Linked DNA regions of Homo sapiens: region 1 is linked to region 2. Evidence: promoter capture Hi-C in 16 types of primary human blood cells and fetal thymus (Javierre and others, 2016). All regions are on one chromosome and are shown on one strand. The core of a region is centred on a gene start or on the middle of the fragment in contact, and the rest is flanking DNA. Distances in the headings are between cores, read along the strand shown. Region 1 overlaps RPA3 (replication protein A3). Region 2 holds the start of PHF14 (PHD finger protein 14).

Region 1 (4,510 bases), core at 1,562-4,061, 3.3 Mb after region 2:
ACAAAGAAGGCAATTTACAGCCTTTAGTGTCATCTTGAGTCATCTAAATTAATGATACAGTGACACATTTATATGTTTTAGGAAAGTTACAAATATAACTGCATAACTGCCACAAACCATTTTGATTTGAGTGTAAATAACACTACTGTACAAGAAGAATTTCTGAAGCAACTTCATTTGGTGTTGCATTTTGAAAATGAAAAAACACCCTGCAAAAGAATTCAGACAACTCTAACAAAAAGCATCTCTCCACATAAAACAAATATCATAAAACACATCTAAATAATGTCCTAAGGGAGAATTAAGTCATGGGATGTGAGGTCACACCTCTTTACAACTCTCTAGAGCACTGGGGAGCAAGAATAAATGTAAAAATAAATAAAACATTATTCAGTATGGGTCTTTAAAATATTCTATTTGCTCGCTCATTTTAATGTTTACACAAAATAGAAGCCATCACATTCAACATCCAGAAAGAATCACTCCCTAAACTGCCAACTAAAAATTATTTGACTTTCAATATAGCCTGACTGCATCATCAGAAGGCTTACTACTTCCTCCCCATTGAAGAACAAACTTCTTTTAACACTCAGTCATTTGTTTGTTCACTATTTAATTCATTCAACCAACATCTTTTGAGGGCCCAAAATTGGCCAGGCACTGTGGTAGGCCCTAGACAAACAAAATTAGACAAGTCACTTTCTCCAAATTCACGGAATTAACCAATCTACTTCCTGCCTCTTTATCCTACTTCTCTACCACCTCTCACAATGTCAATGGGCACAAAGCAAGGTGCTAAGTCCTGTATAAAACCAGCATCAACCATGCATTAACCATGCAAAATGTTACTCACATTCTAGTCTAGTCAAAAATATTGCTAGCTGTCTAATGACTTGCTTCAGACTGCTGAGTAAACAAGACAGCCAGCTGTTTTACAACAAAATGTATGTAAAGAAACACACTAAAAAAATTGGTAATAACTATATCAACTGAAAATCAGAGACCATATCTCAAAGTCTGAGTCAAACTTCCACGAACTGCATGATCAATGGGTATTGACCAAGAAGTACAATCGACCAAGAGTATACTGCTTTACTCGGAAATCCTATCAAAGGAATGAATAAATGGCCAAGTGAGCAAACGAGCAATGTAAAACAGGAGCATGAACCACAAAGAAGATGTGGAAAATACTTTGTCCATCCCCACTGCCTGAGCTTAATTATAAAATACAAGAGCTATATCTACCAGAAAAAAAGACTGCCAGACATCCCACTGCATGGAGACCCCAAAGTCTTACAGGACTAGATTTCCTCCCTTCCTTCTACCCCTCCCTGACAAGATCTTCTCCCACTTCCATTCAGAAGTCACAGCTCTTGCAAGGGGAGAGAGGGAGGAGTCAGGAGGGCAGTGGTTTGAATGGTGTGTAACTGCCCAAGGAGGACTCTGTAAAACAGAGTACAAGACAGGAAAAACTCTGAGCAGAAGAAAGAAAGAAGGTTGAATTTCAAGTTCAAAGAACTGTAAACTGCTCCTAATTCTTCAACTCACTCACAGACCTTTTAAAATCTGAGTCTCGGAAGACCCAATTTCCACCCAGCAGAGTCACATATGATGAATGCCTGTTAGCCTTTGGGAATTGAGTGAACCAGGAAATGTGTACATCCCTCTGACTTTCAGGACCAGACTCAGAAACAAGAAGCTGCCAGCAATAAAAAGTTAAGTGAGGGAGACTAAAGTAATCTGACACAGTCTCTCCTTCAATTAGAGATCACCAGAATGAGATCAACATGAGGATGGAAAAATACGTACCCAAAGCAATGGCCATAGGGAAAATAATATGGACAGGAGGCAGGAAAATACGAGACAGAAGAGGACAGTTCCCTGGCAAAGGCCCCAGCCTCAAGCCTGAAAACCTACAGCCCTAAATGGGAACAGGCATTCCTGTTTCCATACCCAAATGTTGCCTTTTGGCCTGCCACACCCTCCATCCTGTACCCTTATAAACCCCAAACCCCAGCCAAAAGACAAGCCAAGCCCACCCTTGTCACAAGTCCTGCAAGGAGGTTCAGGGAACTCTCCAACATTAGCTCTAGTACTAACATATACTTTTGTGGATTTGTAGATCCTTGTCCTTTCTGGTTTCTATGTAATTTTTGAAATCTTTTATTGATTTAGCCATATATTTTTAAAAATATTTAATCCAACTTTTTTAGATGGACTGTACAGGGAGTGATTTCTCTGAATGTCTGATTTGCTATATTACCAGAAAAATGTGCTCTGGTATTGCTTTGGGCTTTCTCTTTGGCTACAGAGGGGTTGCTCAAAGGTCATGCACCTGGCTTTTTGTACCACAAATGCTCTTTTAAGAGAGCAAATATGGGGATTCTGCTGGTTCCTGAGTACAACAAATCTGACTATACATTAACCAAGATCTCAGTGAAGGTTATAATAAAGTGTTGGGGAGGGACAGCATTAAAGGTAAAGGTAAGCCATGGCCAGAACCTGGAATGTCTTTCTTATATGCCATGCCAAGGAGTTTGGACTTAACAGTGATGCCGGAGGAAATCACTGGATGGAGAGTGATCAGTCTGATATTTTAGGTGGACCATTCTGGGTTCAGGATGCAGAATGGCTGGATTAGTAAATCAAGGTGCGTTTGGCACAAGTAACATTGCCACTTTAACCAGCTTAAACTTTGTTTTACTTATTAACTGTGGTAATAAACATACTACATAAAATTTATCATTTAAACAATTTTTAAGTGTACGGTTTAGTGGCATTAGGTACATTCACACTGTCCTGCAGCCATCACTACCATCCTGTTACAACTGAGGATCAAGCAAATAATGAGACATGTAAGCCTACAGCAAAATCACAATTTAAAACAAAGCAGACATTACAAGAGTAAAATATTATCATTACATTAGTTTTGGAAGAAATTAACCATCCACTTAGAATTCTATACCACAGAAAGATAATAAAACTATGCTTTGAGAACTCGAATGAAATAAACACTCAGAAAAACAAACATGAACTGATGAAGCTGTAAAAATATTAAGTAAAGAAAATGATAAATATATGGGTAATTTCAAGCAAATATTAACTGCATAAAGCAATAATAATGTCTAGGCAGAGTTACAAGAACGTAAATTGTGGGATTACAAGAAATCAAAACAGAACTAAATCTCTAGACAACAGCATAAAAATTGGGAAAAGGTAAATGGAATTACAGGTTCTGTCTTGACCCAAAGTAACTTTCGACTTCAAGATTAATATGCATGCTTCTTAATCTGTCCATGCTGCTATAACAAAATACCATGAATTAGGTAACTTATAAACAGAAATTTACTTCTCACAGTCCTAGAGGCTGGAAAGTGTAAGATCAAAGCTCCAGTATATTCAGTGTCTGATGAATGCCCACTTTCTGGTTCACAGACAGCCATCTTTTCACTATAATTTCATATGGTTGAAGGAGCAAGGGATCTCTCTGACTCTTTTATAAGGGCATGAATCCAATTCATGTGCCCTCTCAAAGGCCTTACCTCCTAATACTATATGCCATCACCTTAGGGGTTAGGATTTCAGCATATGAATTGGGTGGGGGGAGAGAGACAAACATTCGGACCATGGCAGCAGGTTAAAATTTGTAGGGTGGGCCCCCCCACCAACAAGAATACAGAATGTATAACATTCAAATTAACACAGACTGATAACATTAAAGAAGAAAAAAGTAACAAAAAAATCAATGCAAAAGAAGGCAAGAAAGGAAAAAATAACAACAAAACAGAACACATAGGAAGCAAAAAACTGACGTGGAAATTAATCCTGCTGTGGTTTGAATATGTTCCCCAAAGTTCATGTGTTAGAAACTTAATTGCCAATGCAACAGTGTTGAGAGCTGGGACCTATAAAAGGTAACCAGGTTATGAGAGCTCTGACCTCATAAATGGATTAATGCCATTATTGCTAGAGTGGGTTAAGTTATTGGGGGAGTAGTTTCCTGAAAAAAAGCATTAGTTAGTCCCCTTCCCTTACATTTCTCTCATGGTCTCTTGCCTTTCTGTCTTCCTCATAACAAGCCCCTGCCAGATGTGGGTCCCTGGACCTTGGACATCCAAGCCTCTAGAACTATAAGACATCATTTCCTTTCCTTTTTTATTCTTTTCTTTTCTTTTTTTTTTTTTTTTTTTTTGAGATGGAGTCTCGCTCTTGTCGCACGGGCTGGAGTGCAGTGGCACAATCTTGGCTTACTGCAATCTCCACTTCCTGGGTTCAAGCGATTCTCCTGCCTCAGCCTCCTGAGTAGCTGGGATTACAGGCATCCGCCACCATGCCTGGCTAATTTTTGTACTTTTAGTAGAGACAGGGTTTTGCCATGTTGGCCAGGCTGGTCTCAACTCCTGACCTCAGGTGATCCACCCACCTCGGCCTCCCAAAGTGCTGGGATTACAAGTGTGAGCGACCGCGCCCGGCCTTTTTTTTTCTTTCTTTCTTTTTTGAGACAGGGTCT
Region 2 (4,883 bases), core at 606-3,105:
AAGAGGTGGAATTACACATAATTTTCATTGTTCATGTTTATCAGTATTTTTCCCATAAAACATTTAAATTAAACATAATTTTTGTTTCTCAGATTCCTTCAATTGAAACTGTATATATACATAAGGTACACTGAACAGAAAATACAAAGGAAAATCATACTTTTCTGTTTTCCAGTTTAGTACAATGTGAATATACGACCTTTAAAAAAAGTTTTTAAAATTACTAAATATAGTGAGCAAGCATGCATGACTTATACTTCAGAGACATCTGAAAGGCCCAATCCACAAGGTCCAGCACCTACTATAATTTGAAGTGCAACTCTTACTCTGGTCAATTTTATTCTAGTAAAAGAGCTAATACACAAAAAAAGCAAAACTCCCCTAAGAGATTGTCAAGTGATCTGAAAAAAGAAGAACCCTGCTCAGGGACTATTAATGGTCCACACACCTCTCAGGATACTTTTCTACTTCGGGATATCTTTCAGTTTTTTCCTCTATAATATAAGCATAAATATATTTTAAGGTGTAAAACAGAGAAATCCTTTTGCATCTTTGGAAAAAGTCCTTCCCCTGACTGCTAATTATCTCTGAGGAAAACAGAAGCAATTATAGGTCTAGTGACAGGATCTAAAGGCAAAATGGGAAATCAAATGGACAAAATAAATGAAGTTTACGTGCTTTCACTTAAAATTGGCATTTTAATCAAAACCGATTTAAAAAGTCTAAAAATAAGCCTAACTCCAGAAAGCTGGGAAAGGGGAAGAGAGAAGGAAATATTTACCTGAGGCATCTCCAACTTTAAAATCACTGTCATCTGAACTATCATAATCAAGAGCTTCCAGCAGAGAAGCTGCCAAAGGCTTCACCTGCCTCCTCTTGGAGCTGCGATCCACTGTGAAGAGAAAAAAATTACATTGTCATTCATAATCACACCAAACACAGGGGAGAGTTGTGGTGCTAAGAGAACATAAAGATGACCTCGCACAAGGAATTTTTGTCTAACTGAGTTCTCAGCAAAAGGGGTCAGGAGAAGGTTGGGGTGCAGAAGCAGGGTGGGGAGGGCTGGACAGCTCCACGGGCAGTTTCAAAGGCAGCTCCAGCCCTGATGCTGCCAACGCCAACTCAGACCAGCTAAAATCGAAGCTGACCCTCTTGCTCATCTTTTCGAGATGTTTCTGCACCTTCCTCGTAATCCCCCACTTAGACATCGTAACAGTCAATAAAAACGGCAAAAATCAGGGAATAAAACAAGCGGGCTTCATTCCCGCGGACCATGGAGGGCGAGGGTCCACCAATCCTGCTTTCCCGCAGGACTCTCCCACCCCTGCCCTGCTCCCACCGGCCCTGACTTCTAGAATGGCTGAAATGGACCTCTCGCCGCAGAGGCCTCGGATACACTTACTAAGGAATCCGTGAGGTGGTCGTTTGGAGAAGACTTAGGGAGAGGCTGCAGGAGCCCAGGCAGCGCCGAGGTCGGGGACTGGGGCCGCGAAGACAAGTCCGAAAGATGCTATTTAAAACCGGCGCGCAGCCAGCCGGACAGGGGCGCTCCCAAGAGTAGCCCCGCGGTCCCCTAACCCCCCGCCCCCCCGGCCTCGCCTGGCCCTGGCCGCTCGAGCCCCTTCCCACAGCGCTCCCTGGCCGGAGAAGACCTCCGGCCCAGGCAGCGCAGTCAACCCGGCGGCCCCGGGGAGTTAATTTCTCCCGTTAAAACTAGAAGAAAAAAAATTAAAGAAAGAAAAACTTTATTAGCCTGGACCAGAAGCAACGAAAGACCAGAAATTGCACAGCGCGAGGGCGGCTGCCTCAGACAATAGGGAAAGCAGCGACCCGGATACAGCTCTGAAAAGGAAGTGAAAACACGAGGCTGAGCGCAGCCCTGAGAGCAGCAGGAATTGAGGGCGCATGCGCAGGACTCGCCCCCGCGCACCCTTCCCGAGCAGGAGCCGAACAGAGCCGAGTGAAAGCCCAGGGAGCCGCGCGGAGGCGAGCGGAGCCGAGTAGTGCCAAGGCGGAGCAGAGATCCCCGCCAAACCCTGTGCAATTCCGCCCATAAACCCCAAAGGCTCCGCCCTCTCCGCGCCTAATTCACCTCCTGAGTCCAAATCCCTGGGAGGCCAGTTTTTGTTTCTGATCTGTTTTTTAAGGATTTACTGAGTAAACGTTCCACAAAGGGATGTTTGCTACCTTAAGCCACTACCAATATTTAAATGATATTGTCACCGGTAGAGGATCGTGACTGCAAGTTGTCCAGGTTCTTGGCGTTTTTAACAAAGAATTGGACAAAACGCCCAGCAAAGCAAAGAAAGAATGAAGCAACAAAACAACAAAAGCAGGGACTTATTGAAAATTAAAGCACGCTCTGTACGGAAGCGACCTGAGCAGCGGCTCAAGGGCCCGGATACAGAATCTTGAGTCCAAATACCCTCTAGAAGCTTCCTATTGGCCACCTAATGCTCACCTCATGTAAATGAAGTAACGCGCAATCAGTCTGATTGGTTGCAGAAAGCAGCCAACCAGAGGCTGAAGTGAAGTTACAAAGGTCATGCTCCTGTGCAAACATTGGTGCAAAAAGCAATCAATCAGAGGCTAGGGTGAAGTTACAAAGTGGTATACCTCTATGCAAAGGAAGATTTCCCCTGCAATCAGTTTGATTTCTTGCAGATGGTGAAGTTACAAAGTGATACTTCTATGCAAAGGAAGACTCTCCTGCAATCAGTCTGATTTGCTGCCCACAGCCAATTTCCCATCTGCCCTGCAGAAAAAGTGGGGGTTTGCAAAGGGAGTAGCCTCTGGTCCTTTTGTTACTTAGGCATGGAAAGTTAGGGGTTTCCTTTCAATTTAGTTCTTAGGAAGTCGGAGTGACACATCCTTAGGTTCCCTGCCTCCACACCCTATTCTCCTGCCTCACTCTCACCCAAACTATCATTGCCATGTGACCTCTCAAACTTTTCTATTGTGCTATAGAAACTTCTATTCCAAAATGTATAACCTACTTAGTAAACATTTTTCCTTTTCAATGCCCATTCTTTTTACCTCCTCATCTGAAATAGAAACAGTTACCCTGCAGCCCTCTCAAATGAAAACCACTCATCCTTCCATACTTCATTTTCTCAAGGTGCAGAAGTGGCATCCCATGCTTAATACTCCTCATTGCCTTTCAGATATTTATTCTTCCAGTTAAAATCCTAGGAACTTGGTTATTTTAAAAACTCCACTCTGGGAATTTCACTTCCATTCTACTTTAAACACCAACCATATCATGGACTGATAGTCTTATCTATGAAATTATAAATCCAAATATTCCACTGTTTGACAATAGCCTTTTAGATTTATTTGGAGCAATTATGCTGAATCATCTAAAAGAGAAATTCAAAATCTGGCATTCGTGTTTATGTAAAACTAATTTCTAGAAGGAGATTTTCAGAATCAAAATGTATTAATTCATTTACTTTAATAAATAACACCTAGTTGCTCTAGAAAAACTGTACTGCCGGGTGCGGTGGCTCACGCCTGTAATCCCAACACTTTGGGAGGCTGAGGCGGGTGGATCACTTGAGGTTGGGAGTTCGAGACCAGCCTGCCCAACATGATGAAACCCCGTGTCTACTAAAAATACAAAAATTAGCTGGGCGTGGTGGCACATACCTGTAATTCCAGCTACTTGGGAGGCTGAGGCAGGAGAATCACTTGAACCTGGGAGGCAGAGGTTGCAGTGAGCAGAGATCACGCCACTGCATTCCAGCCTGGGTGACAAGAGTGAAACTCCGTCTCAAAAAAAAAAAAAAAAAAGTCTGTACTAATATATATACCACCAAGAGTGGATAAGAATTCTTTCTAGTTTTCCAAACCTGTGGCCATTGGATATCAGCAATCATTTTTTTTTAACTTTTAATTTTGAAGTAATTTCAGATTTACCAAAAAGTGCAATAATAATACTGAGTTTTTGTACATCCTTCACCTAGCTACCACTAATATCAGTATCTTATATAACCATAATACATTTATCAAAACTAAGAAACTAACATGAGTACAGTTTTGTTGACTAAACACTTTATTTATATTTCACTAATTTTCCTACTAATGTCCTTTTTTCTGTTCCAAGATCCAATCCAGAAGACAATATTGCATTTAGGTTATTAATCTTTTGCAATTCATGTATTGAAAGAAAGTAAGAGAAGGAAAGAAGGAGAAAAGGAGGGAAGGAAGAGAGGGAGGGAAAAAGGAAGAAGAAAAGTAGGGTAAAAAGAAAAGAAAAAAATTACCTAATTCCTTTTTTTGACCTGCATTCAATAAACATGGAAAGAACTGCTGGTTGTTTCCCAATACCCATTATCTCCTTTTTCTTCAAAAATGGAAGCTCCAAATTTTAACTGGGCATAAGTTTTCAAAGAATAAAGACATAATATACCAACTTTCTTGATGTTGCTTGGAGTTATGCAGTTAAGTTCTGGCCAATTGCATGTCAGCAGAAACAGTACGTGCAACTTCCAGGAAATGATATTAAATGAAGGGGCTTGAACTTTTCCCTCCCTTTTGTGAATGCTTGTTATTGCTTTTTCTTGCCTAATTGCTCTGCCTAGAACCTGCAGAACATTGTTGAATAAATGTGGTGAGGGAAAGACTTCTTTGTCTTGTTTCTGACTTTAGGAAGAAAACTTTCAGTCTTCCACTTAGTCTTATGTTATCTATAGTTTTTCAAAGATGCCCTTTTTCAGGTGGAGGAACTTTCCTGTTCCTAGTTTGCCAACTGTTTTTATCATGAAAGAGCTTCGAATTTTATTAAATACTCTTTCTCTGTCTATTGAGATGATCATGTGATTTTTGTACTTTATTTTTTCAATATAGTATATTACTATATTGCTTGATTTTTATTTGTTTAA

The links. Contacts are between HindIII fragments. The CHiCAGO score rates a contact against its expected background, and 5 or more counts as called.
Region 1: a contact is called between a fragment that was not itself captured here and the fragment with the promoter of PHF14 in region 2, in 1 of 17 cell types (non-activated CD4 T cells). The highest score is 6.6, in non-activated CD4 T cells.

What each region holds. Positions count from the first base shown.
Region 1 is chr7:7,648,841-7,653,350 of GRCh38, reverse strand. All of the region lies in intron 4 of RPA3 (replication protein A3), which reads left to right. All of the region lies in intron 1 of UMAD1 (UBAP1-MVB12-associated (UMA) domain containing 1), which reads right to left. Among named protein-coding and RNA genes, the nearest start is that of UMAD1, 10 kb to the right of the region's middle. The HindIII fragment of the contact is 9,583 bases long and covers 1-4,510 here.
Region 2 is chr7:10,970,844-10,975,726 of GRCh38, reverse strand. It overlaps PHF14 (PHD finger protein 14), which reads right to left and starts at 1,855. Exons shown (of 18, transcript NM_001007157.2): 1 at 1,403-1,855; 2 at 782-892. The coding sequence starts at 1,403. RefSeq lists silencers at 1,011-1,060, 2,041-2,100, 2,611-2,660 and an enhancer at 1,791-2,085. The HindIII fragment of the contact is 4,357 bases long and covers 1-2,437 here.